Regions from separate parts of the Homo sapiens genome. Here all the other regions are linked to region 3. The links are contacts of gene promoters, found by promoter capture Hi-C in human tissues and cell types (Jung and others, 2019). All regions are on one chromosome and are shown on one strand. The core of a region is centred on a gene start or on the middle of the fragment in contact, and the rest is flanking DNA. Distances in the headings are between cores, read along the strand shown. Region 1 has its middle 23 kb from the start of KCTD7. Region 2 overlaps TYW1 (tRNA-yW synthesizing protein 1 homolog). Region 3 holds the start of ASL (argininosuccinate lyase). Region 4 overlaps SBDS (SBDS ribosome maturation factor). Region 5 overlaps RABGEF1 (RAB guanine nucleotide exchange factor 1). Region 6 overlaps RABGEF1 (RAB guanine nucleotide exchange factor 1).

What was found. The method cuts DNA at HindIII sites, captures the fragments that hold promoters and counts their contacts. A contact is called where the count stands out against the background at its distance.
Region 1: a fragment that was not itself captured here is called in contact with the fragment with the promoter of ASL in region 3 in 1 of the 25 tissues and cell types used here (dorsolateral prefrontal cortex).
Region 2: a fragment that was not itself captured here is called in contact with the fragment with the promoter of ASL in region 3 in 1 of the 25 tissues and cell types used here (mesenchymal stem cells).
Region 4: a contact is called between a fragment that was not itself captured here and the fragment with the promoter of ASL in region 3, in 1 of the 25 tissues and cell types used here (pancreas).
Region 5: a contact is called between a fragment that was not itself captured here and the fragment with the promoter of ASL in region 3, in 1 of the 25 tissues and cell types used here (aorta).
Region 6: a contact is called between a fragment that was not itself captured here and the fragment with the promoter of ASL in region 3, in 3 of the 25 tissues and cell types used here (heart left ventricle, hippocampus and mesenchymal stem cells).

The regions. Positions count from the first base shown.
Region 1 is chr7:66,650,280-66,653,251 of GRCh38, reverse strand. No RefSeq gene overlaps it. Among named protein-coding and RNA genes, the nearest start is that of KCTD7, 23 kb to the right of the region's middle. The HindIII fragment of the contact is 3,311 bases long and covers 1-2,972 here.
Region 2 is chr7:67,002,644-67,005,824 of GRCh38, reverse strand. The region is part of intron 3 of TYW1 (tRNA-yW synthesizing protein 1 homolog); the gene reads right to left. Among named protein-coding and RNA genes, the nearest start is that of TYW1, 7.4 kb to the right of the region's middle. The HindIII fragment of the contact is 3,526 bases long and covers 31-3,181 here.
Region 3 is chr7:66,074,030-66,077,092 of GRCh38, reverse strand. It overlaps ASL (argininosuccinate lyase), which reads right to left and starts at 1,274. Exons shown (of 17, transcript NM_000048.4): 1 at 1,237-1,274; 2 at 1,000-1,054. The coding sequence starts at 1,011. RefSeq lists an enhancer at 724-1,003 and a silencer at 1,104-1,633. The HindIII fragment of the contact is 4,995 bases long and covers 590-3,063 here.
Region 4 is chr7:66,985,130-66,987,964 of GRCh38, reverse strand. It overlaps SBDS (SBDS ribosome maturation factor), which reads left to right. Exons shown (of 5, transcript NM_016038.4): 5 at 1-285. Among named protein-coding and RNA genes, the nearest start is that of SBDS, 9.0 kb to the left of the region's middle. The HindIII fragment of the contact is 6,084 bases long and covers 1-2,835 here.
Region 5 is chr7:66,765,030-66,768,101 of GRCh38, reverse strand. The region is part of intron 1 of RABGEF1 (RAB guanine nucleotide exchange factor 1); the gene reads right to left. Among named protein-coding and RNA genes, the nearest start is that of RABGEF1, 26 kb to the right of the region's middle. The HindIII fragment of the contact is 4,344 bases long and covers 1-3,072 here.
Region 6 is chr7:66,786,488-66,789,490 of GRCh38, reverse strand. All of the region lies in intron 4 of RABGEF1 (RAB guanine nucleotide exchange factor 1), which reads right to left. Among named protein-coding and RNA genes, the nearest start is that of RABGEF1, 47 kb to the right of the region's middle. The HindIII fragment of the contact is 4,062 bases long and covers 1-3,003 here.

The sequences.
Region 1 (2,972 bases), core at 192-2,691, 580 kb before region 3:
TATCGCTGCTGTGTTTTTGGACAGGTTGCCTAATTTTTGTCTTTTTTTGGTGGGGGAGTCTCGCTTTGTGGCCCATACTAGAGTGCAGTGGTGCGATCTCGGATCATTGCCTCCTAGGTTGAAGGGATTCTCCCACCTCAGCCTCCCAAGTAGCTGGAATTGCAGGCGCCCACCACCACGCCCAGCTAATTTTCTTGTATTTTTAATCGAGACAGGGTTTCACCGTGATGGCCAGGCTGGTTTCGAATTCTGACCTCAACTGATCCGCCCCCCTTGGCGTCCCAAAGTGTTAGGATTACAGGTGCCCGCCACCACGCCTGGCTAATTTTTGTATTTTTAGTAGAGACGGGGTTTCACCGTGTTAGCCAGGATGGTCTCGATCTCCTGACCTTGTGATCCGCCCGCCTCGGCCTCCCAAAGTGGTGGGATTACAGGCGTGAGCCACTGCGCCCCGCCAATTTTGTATTTTTAGTACAGACGGGGTTCCTCCATGTTGTCAGGCTGGTCTCAAACTCCTGACCTCAGGTGATCCACCTGTCTCAGCATCCCAGGCATGAGCCACCAAGCCCAGCCTCATTTGGTTACTTTTTGCATGGAATTTATTTTTTCATTCTTTTGTTTTCAATCTCTTTGTTTCTTTGTATCTAAAGTGAGTCTCTTATAGACAGTATATGGATGGATCATGTTGTATTTTATTTTACTTATTTTTTTTACATTTCCCAAGGCTCTGTCATCCACCTTTTCATTAAATCATTCTACCAATCTCTCCTGGGCTCAGGTGATCCTACCACCTCAACTGCCTGAGTAGCTTGGACTGCAGGCACATGCCACCGCTCATGGCCTATATTCTTCTTCTCTTTTTTTTTGGGTGGGGGGGTGGTGCTTAAACAACAGAAATTTATTTCTCTTGGTTATGGAGTCTAGAAATCCAAGTTAAGGGCTGGGCGCAGTGGCTCACACCCGTAATCTCAGCACCTTGGAAGGCCAAGGCAGATGGATCACCTGAGGTCAGGAGTTCCAGACTGGCCTGGCCAACATGGCAAAACCCCGTCTCTACAAAAAATACAAAACTCAGGCATGAAAAACCAAAAGAAATCCAAAATCAGATCACAGAATTGGCAGGTTTGGTTTCTCCTGAGGCCTCTCTCCTTGGCTTATAAATGGTCACCTTTTCACTGTGTCCTCACATGGCCTTTTCTCTGTGAACATGCATTCTTGGTGTCTGTGTGTGTGTCCAAATTTCCTCTTTTTATAAAGTCACCAGTCGAATTGGACTAGGGCCCACCCTAATGGCATCATCTTAACTCACCTCTTTAGAGACCCTATTCCTAAATACAGTCACATTCTGAGGTATTGGAGTTAGGACTTCAACATATAAATTTGGTGGGGATCACAATTAAGCCTATAACATAATCATAGTTACTTAAAAAATAAATAACATGGTGATATAGAATAAGCAGGCAGGAGCGAGGGTTTGGGAGCCTAGGGAGAACCTGGTAAGATGGCACCAAGTTGACACCATAAGGGACTGTGAGGGTGAAGCCACCTGGGAAGGAAGAAGAGAAGGAAGATGCCAGACAGTCCTGGAGGTTAGGCAGGACTTAAATGACTTTGAGACTGGTCACTCATCCAAATATGAAAACTCTCGGGACTCAGAAAATGATAGGACTAAGCAAAAATCCAGCACCAGGGCGGGTGGCTCATGCCTGTAATCCCAGCACTTTGGGAGGCCGAGGTGGATGGATCACCTGAGGTCAGGAGTTCGAGACCAGCTCTGGCCAAATGGTGAAACCCCATCTCTACTAAAAATACAAAAATTAGCTGGGCATGGTAGTGCACACCTGTAATCCCAGCTATTCAGGAGGCTGAGAGAGGAGAATCGCTTGAACACGGGAGGCAGAGGTTGCGGTGAGCTGAGATTGCGCCATTGCACTCCAGCCTGGGTGACAAGAGTGAAACTCCCATCTCAAAAAAATAAAAAGGCAGCACGAGTGCAAATGTTTTGGCTTCTTCTTGTGTAGCTCATCTCATATCTCCCAGTTAGAAACTTTCCTTGTAATGTAGAATCCCTATTGCTGGGATATAAACCTGTATCCTCCTGTTCTGTCCCCAGGGAAGAGATGTCACAAGTCTGTTCATTCATTAGAGTACTATTATTTATCTTTTCTGTAGACTTATTTTCCGCAAGTTGTTTTGGCTTCTTTTCTGTAACTGGATCTGGGTAACCTGACAGTGCAGAACCAGGCCCTGGGCTTCAGCACAGGGACATGCCGAGGCTCGGGACACAGACACGTCCCCACTCTGCTACCCACTAGCCTAGGGACTCAACTGGGCTAGTTAGTCGGCTTTCTCAAACTCTTCATCTGGAAAACAATGTTAGATTCTGGTTAAATTTAGCTCTGAATATGATCATATCTATTTAAGCATTATTATTATTATTATTATTTTTTTTTTTTGGAGATGGAGTCTTGCTGTATCACCAGGCTGGAATGCAGTTGTGCAGGCTCTGCCTCCTGGGTTCAAGCGATTCTCCTGCGTCAGCCTCCCGAGTAGCTGGGATTACAGGCATGTGCCACCATGCCCGGCTAATTTTTGTATTTTTAGTAAAGATGGAGTTTCACCATGTTGGCCAGGCTGCTCTTGAACTCCTGACCTCTTGATCCGCCCACCTCAGCCTCCCAAAGTGCTGGGATTACAGGCCGGAGCCACCGCGCCTGACCTATTTAATCATTTCTAAGGTTTTCTAAAAATCAAGCCCTCTGTATTACTTCTCTCAAGCTTTGGAGCCTAAACTAGAAGAAATAAAAGTCTGATTTCTGCCTCTTATTTTTCTTTACATTCTATTTCAGCTCATGATGCTTGTTCATTTTTTGGACAGTTAAATAGCAGCTTGGACTCAAGTTCACTATAAAGTTCACAATTACTCCTCGGCCATTTCTAGCCAACAGTGGTGTGGTCCAGCCATTCCCTTC
Region 2 (3,181 bases), core at 544-3,043, 930 kb before region 3:
ACTGTGAGGACTCAAGCATTGACTCTTGAATGAAGGGGTCAGTGCAGGGTTTTAAGCAGAGGGATGACGTGACTTCACCTAAGTTTTCAAACAGTCACTGAGGTTGCTGAGTTGAGAGTACACTGGAGTCAGAAGAGGGCCAAGTGGTACTGAATCAGAAACACTGTCTTAGTCCATTTTGCTATAAAGGAGTACCTGAGACTGGGTAATCTATGTCTTTTATTTTTTTGAGACAAGGTCTCACTCTGTCACCCAGGCTGAAGTGCAGTGGCACAGTCACGGCTTACTGCAGCCTTGACCTCCTGGGCTCAAGCAATCGTCCCACCTCAGCCGCCCAAGTAGCTAGGACTACAGGCACATGCCACCATGCCTGGCTAATTTTTGAATTTTTTGTAGAGATAGAGTTTTGCCATGTTGCACAGGTTGGTCTCAAACTCCTGGTCTCAAGTGATCCACCTGCCTTGGCCTCCCAAAGTGCTGGGATTATAGGCGTGAGCCACTGTGCCTAGCCCAATCTATGTTTTAAAAAGGTTTATTTAATGCAGAGAACCCCAGTGAGATATTACGTAAGATGGCCATCCCCAAGACACAAAATCATCAGATTCTCCAGTCGAAATGAAAGAAAAAATGTTAAAGGCAGCTAGAGAGAAGGGGCAGGTCAGCTACATAGGGAATCCCATCAGGGTAACAGTGGACCTTTCAGCAGAAACCCTACAATCCAGAAGAGATTGGGGCCTATATTGAGCATTCTTAAAGAAAAGAAATTTCAAGCAGGGCATGGTGGCTCACATCTGTAATCCCAGCACTTTGGGAGGCCAAGATGGGTGGATCACCTGAGGTCAGGAGTTGGAGACCAGCCTGACCAACATGGTGAAACCCCATCTCTACTAAAAATGCAAAAATCAGCCAGATGTGGTGGCGCACACCTGTAGTCCCAGCTACTCGGGAGGCTGAGGCAGGAGAATCACTTGAACTCGGGAGGCAAAGGTTGCAGTGAGCTGAGATCGCACCACTGCACTCCAGCCTGGGTGACAGAGAAAGACTCTGTCTCAAAAAAGAAAACAAGAAATTTCAACCAAGAATTTCATATCCAGCCAAATTAAGCTTCATAAGCGAAGGAGAAACAAGATCCTTTCAGGCAAACAAATGCTAAGGGAATTTATTACAACCAGACCTGCCTTACAAGAGGTCCTTAAGGAAGTGCTAACTATGTAAAGGAAAAATTGTTATGGGCCACCATAAAAAGGTTTATTTGGTTCACAATTCTGATATCTGAAAAAGTTCAAGATTGGACAACTACATCTGGTGAGGGCTCCAGGCTGCTTCTACTCCTGGCAGAGTAGAAGTGAAAGGGAGCTGGCGAGCACAAAGATCACATAGCAAGAGAGGAAACAAGAGTGCAGGAGAGGTTCCAGGCTCTTCTTACCAACAAGCTCTCTTGGGAACTAAGACAGCAAGAACTCACTCACCCCTCCCCCAGGGATTCATCTATTCAGGAGGGATCTGCCCCCAGGACCCAAACACCTCCCATTAGGCCCATCACCAACACGAGGGATCAAATTTCAACATCAGTTTTGGGGGAACAAACAACAAATTATAGCAGAAATCAATGGTGAGATGACTGTCCTAATCCAGACAAAATATCATGGCAGTGTCAAAGCTGTCAGAATCAACAACATGGAGTTACTTATGTTAAAATATCCCTGACAATAAGAGCTAGGGAAGACAAAGAATTCGCACACTTAGATTGTTTTTTTTGTTTTTTGTTTTTTGTTTTTTTTGAGACAAGGTTTCACTCTGTCCCCCAGACTGGAGTGCAGTGGCGCCATCTTGGCTCACTGCAACCTCTGCCTCCCGGGTTCAAGTGATTCTCATGCCTTAGCCTCCCGTGTAGCTGGGATTACAGGCATGTGCCACCACACCAGGCTAATTTTTGTATTTTTTAGTACAAATGGGGTTTTGCCATGTTGGCCAGGCTAATCTCAAACTCCTGACCTCAAGTGACCCACCTGCCTCAGCCTCCTAAACTGCTGGGATTACAGGCATGAGCCACCACACCTGGCCTCACACTCAAATTCCTGACAATGAGAAAGATTCTACAAAAAATACAACCTTGCACAAAGACCAGTGCAACCTTACACAAAAAATACTACTGCAAGGACATCTGCCCAGCAACTTCATGTCCAACCTTGGATTGTGTCACCTTTGTTATTAACCTTTGTAGGCAAGAATAATTATTTCAAAACAATTCTGTAATCCTCATTTTTTCCCTTACAAATCTTTGCCTTCCTTTACTTCCCTGAATACATGCAGTTTACTATGGCAATTGTATCCCCATTGCAATGTACGTGCTATTCCCAAACAAACATCTTTTCTTTTGGAGAGCCTCTCTATGGTATTTAGGTTGACAATGGCATGGACCAGGGGAGTAGCAGTGAAGGTGGTAAGAAGTGATTGGAAACTGAATCTATTCTTAAAGTAGAACAAACAGAATCTGCTGACAGACTGGACATGGGTTGTATAAAAAGAAGTCAAAAGGTGTTTTGGACCAAGCAATTGGAAGGATAAAGTTGTCATTTACTGAAATTGTAAGGATTACAAGTAGAGCAGGCTTGGGCAGAAAATTGGGAGTTCAGTTTTGAGCACACTGATGTTAAGATGCTTACTAGACATTCATATGATGCTCTAAGATAGGTAACTCGATATGAAAGTCTGGAGTTGAGAGAAACAGTTAAGATTAGAAACAGAAATTTAGGGCCAGGCGCGTGGCTCAAGCCTGTAATCCTAACACTTTCAGTGGCCGAGGCGGGTGAATCACTTGAGGCTAGGAGTTTGAGACCAGCCTGGCCAACATGCAGAAACCCCGTCTCCACTAAAAATACAAAAATCCCAGCACTTTGGGAGGCCAATGCCACTGCACTCCAGCCTGGGTGACAGAGTAAGACCCTGTCTCAAAAAAAAAAAAAAAGAAAAAAGAAAAAGAAAAAGAAAAAGTTACAAAAAATATAAGAGAAAAGATCTGAGACACAGAAGACGATCCAAAAGGTAGAACATCCCACAGGAATCCCAGAAAAAAAGAAATGAAAAGGGGAAAAAAAAATTCATCCAAGAAATATTAACAGAACTAATGCACACAAATCGTCAAAATGCATACAAATCGTCAAAACAAAAAAAATTCAAG
Region 3 (3,063 bases), core at 25-2,524:
CGGCCTTTTATGAGGTGGGCAATATTACCCCTATTTCACAAATGAGGAAAGAGGTTTAAAGGGCTCAAGTGACTGGTACAGAAACCAAGTCTGTTTGGCTCCAAAGTCCAGGCCCTACCCCCCTGCCATGACCCAGAAGCTTGCAGGGCACTGAGCTTGCAGGGCATTGAGAAAGAGGAAGTGAATTGCTAGCTAATGAAGGCCAAAAGGGCCTGGAACCCAGACCTCCTGCTTCCCGGAGTTCCCTTCATCAAGCATCAGGCGAACAGCCCCTCTCACCTGAAGGGTCCAAAGCAATGGCCTCATAATCTAGTGCCTTACAGAGTGAGGCCGACAGCTATTATTACCCCCATTGCCAGATAAATCAACTATGGCCCAAGGAAGGAAAACCTCTGCCTGGGAATCCAGCATCTCAGTGGTCAGGAGGAGAGGCCAGGAGCCACTGACCCTAAGAGGCAGGGTCCAGTGAGACAGGAAGGGACCAGGCACCAGGGTTGCTGGAGCCACGAGGCGACGTCCCCTTTTTCCTGGCTCTTTCCACATGCCACAGTCAAGGACAAGAACACTTAGGGGCTGAGCTTTATTCTATAAACAGGGACAATTGCTCTAGCAGGAGAAGGGATGTGGTGTGGGGTGGGACCTGACAGGAGGACACGTGGTAAGAAGGAAGGAAGAGTTGGAAGGCTGAAGGCTTGGGAGCCACTTTTCCTGGCCAGGCAGGCATCACTGTGAGGTGAGGGCAGAGCCACTCTACCCCTAGTAGTGTGGGTTGGTGGGTTTGCCACAAGGGCTGCCTGCGGATACTGGTGAGTCCTGGTAAAGGTGACTGCTGGGCTCCAGATGATGCGCCCGGGAGGGCTGGGGGTGCAGGCTTCCTAGGTAATTTTCAAAATTGCTTCCTGGAGGGCGATTCCCAGCAGGGTGGCCCGAGGCAGGTCTGGCGCCCCCACTCTCTCCTTTGGAGGCTAGGAGGACCGGAGTCCCCGAGGTCCCACTCACCTCCGAGGCCATGTTGGGCGGTTCCTCGTCGTCCGGAAGCTTCGGTCCTCCGGGTCTGGAAGACAAGACCGGACTGACGACCTCCTTGGCCAGCAGGGTCCCCCGGGCCGGGCTGGCTCCGAGTTCTGGGCACTGCGCTTGAGGGAGCGCAGCCCTTGGGGACGCGGACGTGAGCGCGCGCCACGGTGCTCGGCGTCCTCCACGCCCGTCCCGCCCATCCGGCCGCCGCGCACTCACCTCCGCCTGGCCGCACGGATAGTGTCGCGCCCGCCACTGGCCAGGGCTTTTCTGGCCGGGATGGCGTCAGCAGCCGCCGGTCCTGTCCCCACCCCTGGCGACGGCCGCGCCAATAGGAGGCCGCCCGGCGGGGTGGGCGTTGCCTCCATCCTCCAATCCTGGCCGTGGGCGGGGATACCTCCCGCTGAGCTGGAGGCTAAGCGGCCCCGGGGCGGGGAAGCGGGCGGGGAAAGGGTTGGGGGGACCCCGACGGGGAAGGGGCCTGGGCTGGGGTTGAGGAGGGTAGTGCGCTGGCGTTCGTGCTGTGGTCAGCAGACACGCAGGGGACTGGAGACTCGGGCCAGGGGTAGAGGCTATGACATCAGGCCCGGGCCTGGCAGGTTCACAAGATATATAAGGTGAAATGGCATGTTCGCTCATTCACTCATTCATTCATTCATTCAACAAACACGTACCAGGCACCTCTATGTGCCAGGTACAGAGAAAGGCATCAAGGAAAAAGGAAGGACCATCAGAAATGAAGCCTGTGCCAGGCGCGGTGGCTCACAGCTGTAATCCCAGCACTTTGGGAGGCCGAGGTGGGAGGATCGCTTGAGGCTACGAGTTGGAGACCAGCCTGGGCAATACAACAAGATCCCGTCTCTACAAAAAAATTAATAATAATAAAAAAAAAGCCGGGCGTGGTGGTGCACGCCTGCAGTCCTAGCTACTCAGGAGGCTGAGGCGGGAGGAGCACTTGAGCCCAGGAGTTCGAAGCTGCAGTGAGCTATTGTGCCACGGCACTCCAGCCTGACTCCTCTAAAAAAGAAAAGAAACGCGGCCGGAGGCCGGGCGCGGTGGCTCACGCCTGTAATCCCAGCACTTTGGAAGGCCGAGGCGGGTGGATCACGAGGTCAGGAGTTTGAGACCAGCCTGGCCAAGGTGGTGAAACCCCGTCTCTACTAAGAATACAAAAATTAGCCGGGCACGGTGGCGGGTGCCTGCAATCCCAGCGACTCCGGAGGCTGAGGCAGGAGAATCTCTTGAACCCGGGAGGCGGAGATTGCAGTGAGCTGAGATGGTGCCATTGCACTCCAGCCTGGGTGACAGAGCAAGATTCTGTCTCAAAAAAAAAAAAAAAAAAAAAAAGAAAGAAAGAAAGAAAGAAAGAAAAGAAAAGAAAAAAGAAACGCAGCCGGGCACAGTGGCTTACGCCTTTAATCCCAGCACTTTGAGAGGCTGAGGCGGGCGGATCACCTGAGGTCAGGAATTCGAGATGAGCCTGGCTGACATGGTGAAACCTTGTCTCTATTAGCCGGGTGTGGTGGTGGGTGCCTGTAGTCCCAGCTACTCCGACAGCTGAGGCAGGAGAATCACTTGAACCAGGGAGGTGGAGGCTGCAGTGAGCTGAGACGGCACCACTGCACTGCAGCCTGGGCGACAGTGAGACTCTTGTCTCGAAAAAAAAAAAAAAAAAAGAAAGAAAGAAAGAAAAAGAAAAAGAGAAGAGAAAACAAAGAAAGAAACGAAACAAAAGAAATGAAGCCTGACTTCAAGAAGTTCCAACATAGCATGGAGGAGGTGTGCAGGGAGCACAGGCGTTGGGGAGGGGGGCTATGTTGGGTACTCAGGGAAGAGGTCCTTGATCTGATTAATTAATTATTCAACCAAAATGTCAGGCTGGATTCTAGGCACTGGAAGTACCCTGAAGGGGCTTCTAATGAACCTGTCTTCTGCATTGGGTCTTGGAAGATGGGGGGAATTTGCCCAGGGAAGAAGGGGAGAACATTCCAGGCAGAGGGAGAAGTCTGGACAAAAAATGTGACTGGCCTGCTTTAAGAACAGGAA
Region 4 (2,835 bases), core at 68-2,567, 910 kb before region 3:
TGCTTCATTTCTACTTAATGGAACTTGTGTTCTGAGGGTCATTATGGTATCGTAATGTAAAGCTTGGATGATGTTCCTGATTATCTGAGAAACAGATATAGAAAAATTGTGCCGGACTTACCTTTCATTGAACATGCTGCCATAACTTAGATTATTCTTGGTTAAAAAATAAAAGTCACTTATTTCTAATTCTTAAAGTTTATAATATATATTAATATAGCTAAAATTGTATGTAATCAATAAAACCACTCTTATGTTTATTAAACTATGGCTTGTGTTTCTAGACAACTTCCTAACTCCCTTTCTTTTCTCTGCCTGTGTCTGTGGTAGGGTTAGGGAGTTGTCAGGAGAACTGAATAAGTCCATATGAAGAGTGCTTAGAACAGGGCCTGTACTTGTAAACACCTGAAAAATTTTTGCTAACACTTGGGATGTAATTGGGAAGAATTATTTTAGTATTTAAACACTTAAATGGACAAGATGCAAGCTTTTAAAAATCTACTTCAAGGCCAGGGGAGGTGACTCACACCTGCAATCCCAACACTTTGGGAGGCCGAGGCAGGCGGATCACCTGAGGTCAGGAGTTTGAGACCAGCCTGACCCACATGGTGAAACCCTGTCTCTACTAAAAATACAAAAATTAGCCAGGCATGGTGGTGCACGCCTGTAGTCCCAGCTACTCGGGAGGCTGAAGCAGGAGAATCACTTGAACCCAGGAGGCAGAGGTTGCAATGAGCTGAGAATGTGCCACTGCACTCCAGTCTAGGTGACAGAGTGAAACTCGGTCTCCAAAAAAAAGAAAAAAAATCTATTTCAAAAGATACATTCTAGAATATAAATTAAATTCACTCAAAATAAACATACAGATGTATTTCTGGACAGCAGTTTTTAACTGAAGACAGGCTTCTTGACTTGAAAAGGTACTGATTGGTTTATAAGCACACACAACTCCCTGCTAATACAAGCTCTCAGAAATGTCCCTTTAGTTTAAAATAACTAACATTGAGGTTATAAAGTCAAAATTTTTTCTTATATTGTTAACAAAATACATTGATAACATGGGAATGAACACTTTTTCTGTTAATGCTAAAGCTAGGCTGCTGTTTTGATACAGCTATTTGTTCAATATATCAATAGTTCTATCTTAGTAAAAAAATATAAACATTTAATAGAACATTTCCTTAAGATTTTCTGGGGCCAGGCGCAGTGGCTCCCACCGGTAATCCCAGCACTTTGGGAGGCCAAGGCGGGTGAATCACTTGAGCTTGGGAGTTTGAGACCAGCCTGGGCAACACAGTGAAACCCCGTCTCTACAAAAATACAAAAAATTAGGCATGGTGGTGTGCACCTGTTTTCCCAACTACTTGGGAGGCTGAGGCAGGAGGATCACTTGAGCCCGGGAGGCGGAGGTTGCAGTGAGCTAAAATCACCCCACTGCACTCCAGCCTGGACAACAGAGCCAGACCCCATCTCAAAACAAAGATTTTCTGATTCTGAATATTCATTTTTTCTAAAAAGCTGGAACTTCAAGAAATGTCAAATGTGGATCACATCTGAGTCATCATCTAAACTTATTTTTTTAATTTTATACTAATTTCATTATCAAAGAACTTAACATTTTTTGGTTCATGATCATCTTCCCAGTACCACAGCCATAATGGATTATTTTAAGGATTGGTTTGACTTTTTCAATGCAAGCTGATGGTGTGTGCATTTGGTCACAATGACATTTCAGACTTAGGCCTCTTCTTTTACCACAGTTCTTTTCTCTGAAGCTTCCCTTGTACCCCATACACAAGTATTTGCTCCAGTTGCTGGAAGCCAGTACTCTACTTAAATTCCTTCATGGGTCTGGATTTATTCAAACTTGTATTAGAGCTGCTTAATTATCTGCCTTCAGGCTAGACTGTGAGCTCCTTAAGGGCAAGGGACTTAGCAATGTGTGTGTATATCCCACCATGCTTTGGACCTAGCAGATGTGGAGTAAATGTCTGAAATAATAAACACGTGGACCAGGCACAGTGGCTCATGCCTGTAATCCCAGCACTTTGGGAGGCCCAGGTGGGCAGATCACCTGAGGTCAGGAGTTCAAGACCAGCCTGGCCAAAATGACGAAACCCAGTCTCTATTAAAAATACAAAAATTAGCTGGCTGTGGTTGCTCACGCCTGTAATACCAAGACTTTGGGAGGCCAAGGCAGGCAGATCACGAGGTCAAGAGATCGAGACCATCCTGGCCAACATGCTGAAACCCTGTCTCTACTAAAAATACAAAAATTAGCTGGGCACGGTGGCGCATGCCTCTAGTCCCAGCTACTCAGGAGGCTGAGGCAGGAGAATCACTTGAACCTGGTAGGCAGAGGTTGCAGTGAGCCACTGCACTCCAGCCTGGGTGACAGAGCGAGACGCTGACTCAAAAAAAAAAAGAAATTAGCTGGGCATGGTGGCGGCCGCCTGTAATCCCAGCTGCTCAAGAGGCTGAGGCTAGAGAATCTCTTGAACCTAGGAGGCAGAGGTTGCAGTGAGCCAAGATTCTGCCACTACACTCCAGCCTGGGTGACAAGAGCAAAACTCCATCTCAAAAAAAATATATTTTATATCAGAACTAAATGTAAACATAAAACTATCAGATACTGGCTTACACCTGTAATCTCAACACTTGGGGAGGCCAAGGCTGCCGGATCACGATGTCAGGAGATGGAGACCATCCTGGCTAACACGGTGAAACCCCGTCTCTACTAAAAATACAAAAAATTAGCCGGGAGTGGTGGCACGTGTCTGTAGTCCCAGCTACTCGGGAGGCTGAGGCAGGAGAATCACTTGACCCTGGAAGATG
Region 5 (3,072 bases), core at 89-2,588, 690 kb before region 3:
TTGCTATTTACAAAATTCTATACGCAAACGGTTATAGTAGCAATATTTGTGATGACAAAAAATGACAACTAAAATATCCTTCAATGGGTGAATGAATAAACAAACTATGGTGCACCCATACAACAGAATGCTACTCAGGAAAACAACAACAACAGGTATCAGTACACCCAACAACTTTGATGAATCTCAAAGGCTTTATGCTGATAGAAGCCAGCATCTTAGTTCCTTCTGGCTGCAGTAACAAAATACCATAAACTGGGTAGGTTATAAAAAACAGAAATTTATTTCTCACAGTGCAGGAAGCTGGCAAGTTCAAGATCAGGAAGTCAACAGATGTTGGTGTCTGGTGGTTCAATGAAGATACCTTCTCCCTGTGTCCTCACATGGTGGGAGGGGGAGACAGGCTAGGCTCTCTGCAGTCTCTTATAAGGGCACTTACAAGCCCCAGTCATGAGGTCTCCACTTTCATGAACTAATCACCTCCCAAAGGCTCCACCTCCTAGTAGCAACACCTTGTGGTTTAGAATTTCAACATATGAATTTGGGGGACAGACAAAGATTCAGACCATAGCAGCCATCTTAAAAGTTTACATACTATATGATTCCATTTAGGAACTAGGGGTAGGAAAGAATGTGACTATAAAGGATTAGCACGAGAAAGTTTTTTGGGGTGATGAAACTGTTCTGTATTCTGATTGTGGAGGTGTTTACATAAATCTAATAAAATTTAAAAATTCGCAGACCATTATACTCCTCCCAGATCAATTTTACTCTATGATTTAAACAAAAAAAAAACCTCGGCTGGGCACAGTGGCTCACACCTATAATCCCAGCACTTTGGGAGGCTGAGGCGGGTGGATCACCTGAGGGCAGGAGTTTGAGACCAGCCTGGCCAACATGGCAAAACCTCGTCTCTATTAAACATACAAAAATTAGCTGAGCATGGTGGCAGACGTCTGTAATCCCAGCTACTTGGGAGGCTGAGACACAAGAATCGCATGAACCGGGGAGATGGAGGTTGCAGTGAGCCAAGATCATGCCATTGCACTCCAGCCTGGGCAACAGAGGGAGACGCCATCTCAAAAAAAAAAAAAAAAAAAAGAAACTTGACAGGCAATTTCCAGGTTGGATTAGGGAGAAGTACAGAACAGAAGACACAGATACTGACCAAGAGACAACTACAATTAGAGGACTTGAGGTAACACAGTGGGTAGCCAGGCATGGTGGCGCTTGCCTGTAATCCCAGGTACTCAGGAGGCTGAGGCACAAGAATCGCTTGGACCTGGGAGGCAGAGGCTGCAGTAAGCCGAGATCGCACCACTGCACTCCAGCCTGCGCAACAGAGTGAAACCCTGTCTCGAAAATAAATAAATAAATAAATAAATAAATAAGAGGTAACAGTGGGAATGGAAAGACGACGGGTGGTAATCTACCTTAGAGATCAGATCTTTAATAGTTATTTAATGAGACTTGACAGAGAGAGGGAAATCTAATTAGAAAAAACTCTCAAGTTTACTGTTTACTTCCTCTACAAGGTTAAAGCCCTCCAAGGTCAGGATTTAGATCTAAGACACCAGCCATTTATAAATAGTAGATAAGGCTGAGGTAGAAAGCAAGAAAATAACAAGTAGAAAAAAAGAAAAGAATAGAGTCCTAGAATGTTTTTAAAGACCATCTACTACATCCTATAGTAAGAGATAAAGATACTAACATTAAGAAATCATGACTTATTCCATCAAAAAGGTAGTAAGTGGCAGAGACATCACTAAGCACTAAGCTTCCTTTTTTTTTTTTTTTGGAAGACAGGGTCTGTCATTCAGGCTAGAGTGCAGTGGCGTGATCACAGCTCACTGCAGCCTTGACTTCCCGAGCTCAAGCAATACTCCACCACTCAGCCACCATGCCTGGCTAATTGTTGTTATTTTTTTGTAGAGGCGGTGTTTCGCCACGTTACCCAGGTGGTCTTGAACTCCTGAGCTCAAGTAAGCCTATACTTAGTATGCCAAGTCCTGGGTTTCAAATTATTTTGAAAGTCTGAGCTAATCTTGCCATTATCATCCTGATGTCCCTTTTCTTCCCTTCCAAGAGAAATGGGCAAAAGGAAGATACCTATTTTTAAGTATAGATCAATTAAGTTTTTTTAAATTTTGTACTATAAGTATGATAGTACTACTCAATGTTACTAAAATGAACATAGTTTGGGAAGTCTGCCTAGCACATAACCTCCCATGTTATCAGGAAACTGTCCTCTCAATCCACAAAGATAAGCTGGCAGCAGCTATATTTGTATAAGGTGAATGGTCCCCCAATTCAGGATCACAGCTGATTGCCTCCAACTGTGTTAGAGTCTTTTGCTTCGAGTTTTGGAAATGGGACTAAGTCGGGGCTGTTCTCTTGAATGATGGAGCTGTGTGACATGATCCTTCTATCAAGTGGTCTGAGTATCAGGACAGTCTACAGAATGAAATAGACATACCCCAAGAAGCAGAGAAAAGTAGAAGGTCCTGTACGTCCTGAATGATTTCAATCTCCCAGTTCCAATCCCTGGCTAAGGTTTACGTGCACGCCCATCCTCAGATTCTGAGTCATACACCCTGGTCCCCTAACTACTTTTGTCGTTTTTTCTTAAGCTGGTTCCAGTAGAGCCTATTATCTATGCCAAAAGACTTGTACAGATGCTCTTTAAGAGCTAGAAAAACATAAAGGAGTGCTCTGTGGATTACTTGGCATACAATAAAAGCTCACTATGTATTAGACAGAAACAATAACAATAGCTCTGAGTCTAAGAAGACTGATTTGGTGTGGACCATGAAATCACAGAGATCAGTCCTATCTGCACTCCAACCCCAGCTCTGCCACGTACTGGAAATGTAACTTTAGGCAAACTATGTAATATTTCTGAAACTCCCTTTCCTATATCCCTCTCCAACCTCTCTGCTCCTATCATTCTCCACCTTTTCACCCAACTAAGCCTCATAGGACCTGTGCACCCATGACCTTCACTCTCTGGTGCTACACCTGTGATTATGTCACCTTACACTGCAAAAAGGACTTTGCAGATATAATTAAGTT
Region 6 (3,003 bases), core at 471-2,970, 710 kb before region 3:
CAGGATGGTCTCGATCTCCTGACCTTGTGATCCGCCCATCTCAGCCTCCCAAAGTGCTGGGATTACAGGCGTAAGCCACCGCACCCGGCCTCAAATACATCTTTTATCTACTTTTTTTCCTTATGACTTATAGATGCTGAGAGCTCAGAGCTATTTCCACTGCCTCACTTCTCATCCTCAGTGCTTCCAGTTTTAAAATTAGGTCCTGGGTTGCTACCCCTGCTGAAGTTCTCACAATAATTAAAGCCTATTTGCTAGTTAAAGGTTCTTTGTTTTGGGTACATACTTCTGTTCTTCTGACAGTAAATTACGTGGCAGGGCAAACTACTCCTTGATTAAATATATAGTTTACAACAATAGAGTCATTTTAAGGTATAGGAGGACACTTATCTTTCTACTTGTTCTGGGAAAGAACATGGGACTGAAGATATAACCATGTCTTAAACTGTGTATTTTTTTGTCCTCATTCAGGTACAAAGCTTTAAGTCCATATAATATAATCAGTATCAGATTATTATTATTATTTTTTTTTGAGACAGAGTTTTTTTGCTCTTGTTGCCCAGGCTGGAGTACAATGGCGCGACCTTGGCTAACTGCAACCTTGGCCTCCCAGGTTCAAGTGATTCTCCTGCCTCAGCCTCCCTAGTAGCTGGGATTACAGGCACCCGCCACCACGCCCAGCTAATTTTTTGTATTTTTAGTAGAGACGGGATTTCACTATGTTGGCCAGGTGATCCACCCGCATTGGCTTCCCAAAGTGCTAGGATTACAAGCGTGAGCCACTGTGCCCAGCTCAGTATCAGATTTTTATAGGACTGGCTAGAAAAATAACAATGAAACAAGCAAAAGGTGTTATGTTGTGCTTAACTGCTTCCTTAGAAAGAAGAGCTTATCAGAATGACTATTAAGAAGTCTTTTAGAAACTGAATTGATTGCCATGAATGGAGTATTAAGGGACTAATACAAATTAAAAAAATAAAAATAACTGAATTGAGAAACCCAAAAAATGAGGGGTGTTTTGTTTTGTTTTGTTTTTTGTTTTTTTTTGAGATGGAGTCTTGCTCTGTTGCCCAGGCTGGAGTGCAGTGGCATGATCTCAGCTCACTGCAACCCCACCTTTTGGGTTCAAGTGATTCTTCTCCCTCAGCCTCCCGAGTAGCTGGGACTACAGGCGAGCGCCACCATGCCCAGCTAATTTTTGTATTTTTAGTAGAGACAGGGTTTCACCATATTGGCCAGGCTGGTCTCGAAATCCTGACCTCGTGATCCACCCACCTCAGCCTCCCAAAGTGCTGGGATTACAGGTGTGAGCAACCTCGCCCAGCCCCAAGTTTATTAAAAAGCACTACTGCAATACCCAACAAATTAAAGGGTAGGTACTTTGAGGAAGTAGAGCCTGCCCCCTTTAAAAGCAGGACAAGCTACACTTTCAGAATAGGGAAAAAATGTATCTGAGGGATTTATTAACACTTAGCAAGGGCAGGATTTAAATAGTTTGAGCAGCAAAAGAGTTTTTCCAGAAGTTTTATTTACTTTTATTTAATTGCAGTCTAAACATGTGTCTTACAGTGAGCGTTTTCATATAAATAATTTACAGAAAAAAGTTATTTACAAAGCCACAGATCTCATTCAGTTAGGTAATATGGTTTTCTAGTTATTATGGGAAAGGTTAACACTTGATTGGGTCTATACAGTGCCTTAAAATTGCCCTCACCACATGAAGCTCTGTCCAGATGACAAAGAGAATGTATACCTCTTCATAAGTGACTATATATACTCCTGAATCCATAATCACTCTCAGACCTGTGTGAAGCTTGGTTAAGGTGAGATTCTTAAATTCAAGTTAGGCCAGGTATTGTGGCTCAATCCTGTAATCCCGGCACATTGGGAGGCCAAGGTGGGCGGATCATGTGAGGCTAGGAGTTCATGACCAGCCTGGCTAACAGAGTAACACCCCATCTCTACTAAACATACAAAAAATTAGCTCGGCATGGTGGTGCACACCTGTAATCTCAGCTATGCGGGAGGCTGGGGCATAAAAATTGCTTGAACCTGGGAGGCAGAGGTTGGGGTGAGCCGAAATCACGCCACTGCACTACAGCCTGGGCAACAGAGCAAGACTCTATCTTAAAAAAAAAAAAAAAAAAAAAAAAATCAGGCCAGGCATGGTGGCTCACTTCTGTAACCCCAAGATTTTGGGAGGCCAAGGCGGGCAGACCACTTGAGGTCAGGAGTTCAAGACTAGCTTGGCCAACATAGTGAAATCCTGTGTCTACAAAAAAAAAAAAAAGTAAAAATTATCTGGGCATGGTGGCACATGCATGTAATCCCAGCTACTCGAGAGGCTGAGGGAGGACGATCACTGGAACCTGGAAGGTAAAGGCTGCAATGAGCAGAGATCACACCACTGCACTCCAGCCTGGCCAACAGAGCAAGACTCCTATCTCAAAAAGAAATAATAATAATTCAAGTTATGTTGTACAGATTAGGTTTTAAAAATTAAGCTTTATTAATTTGGCTCAGCAATTTAAATTCTTGCTATGATGATTTGTAAGAACAGAAAAGTAGCTGATGGCAACTATATTTTCAACATAAAAGGATTTTGTGTTAATGACATAGCTGCCCGTCTCATTTGCAATGGAAATATCTTGTTTTAAAGAATGTATAGAAGTACTGTAAGAGTATACATGTTTTAACATTAAGTGGCTAGTAAGACTAGCAAGAAAGAAAAAAGAGCAAAATAAACAAGCTTCAGAAAAATATTAGCAAACAACATTTGCTGAATAGCACTGGGCGCGGTGGCTCACACCTATAATCCCAGCTCTTTGGGAGGCCAAGTTGGGAAGATCACCTGAGGTCAGGAATTCAAGACCAGCCTGGGCAACATAGGGAAACCCTGTCTCTACAAAAAATAAAAAACTCAGCCAGACATGGTGGTGTGTGCCACTAGTCCCAGCTACTCAGGAGACTAAGGCAGGAGGATCACTTGAGTCTGGGAGGTCA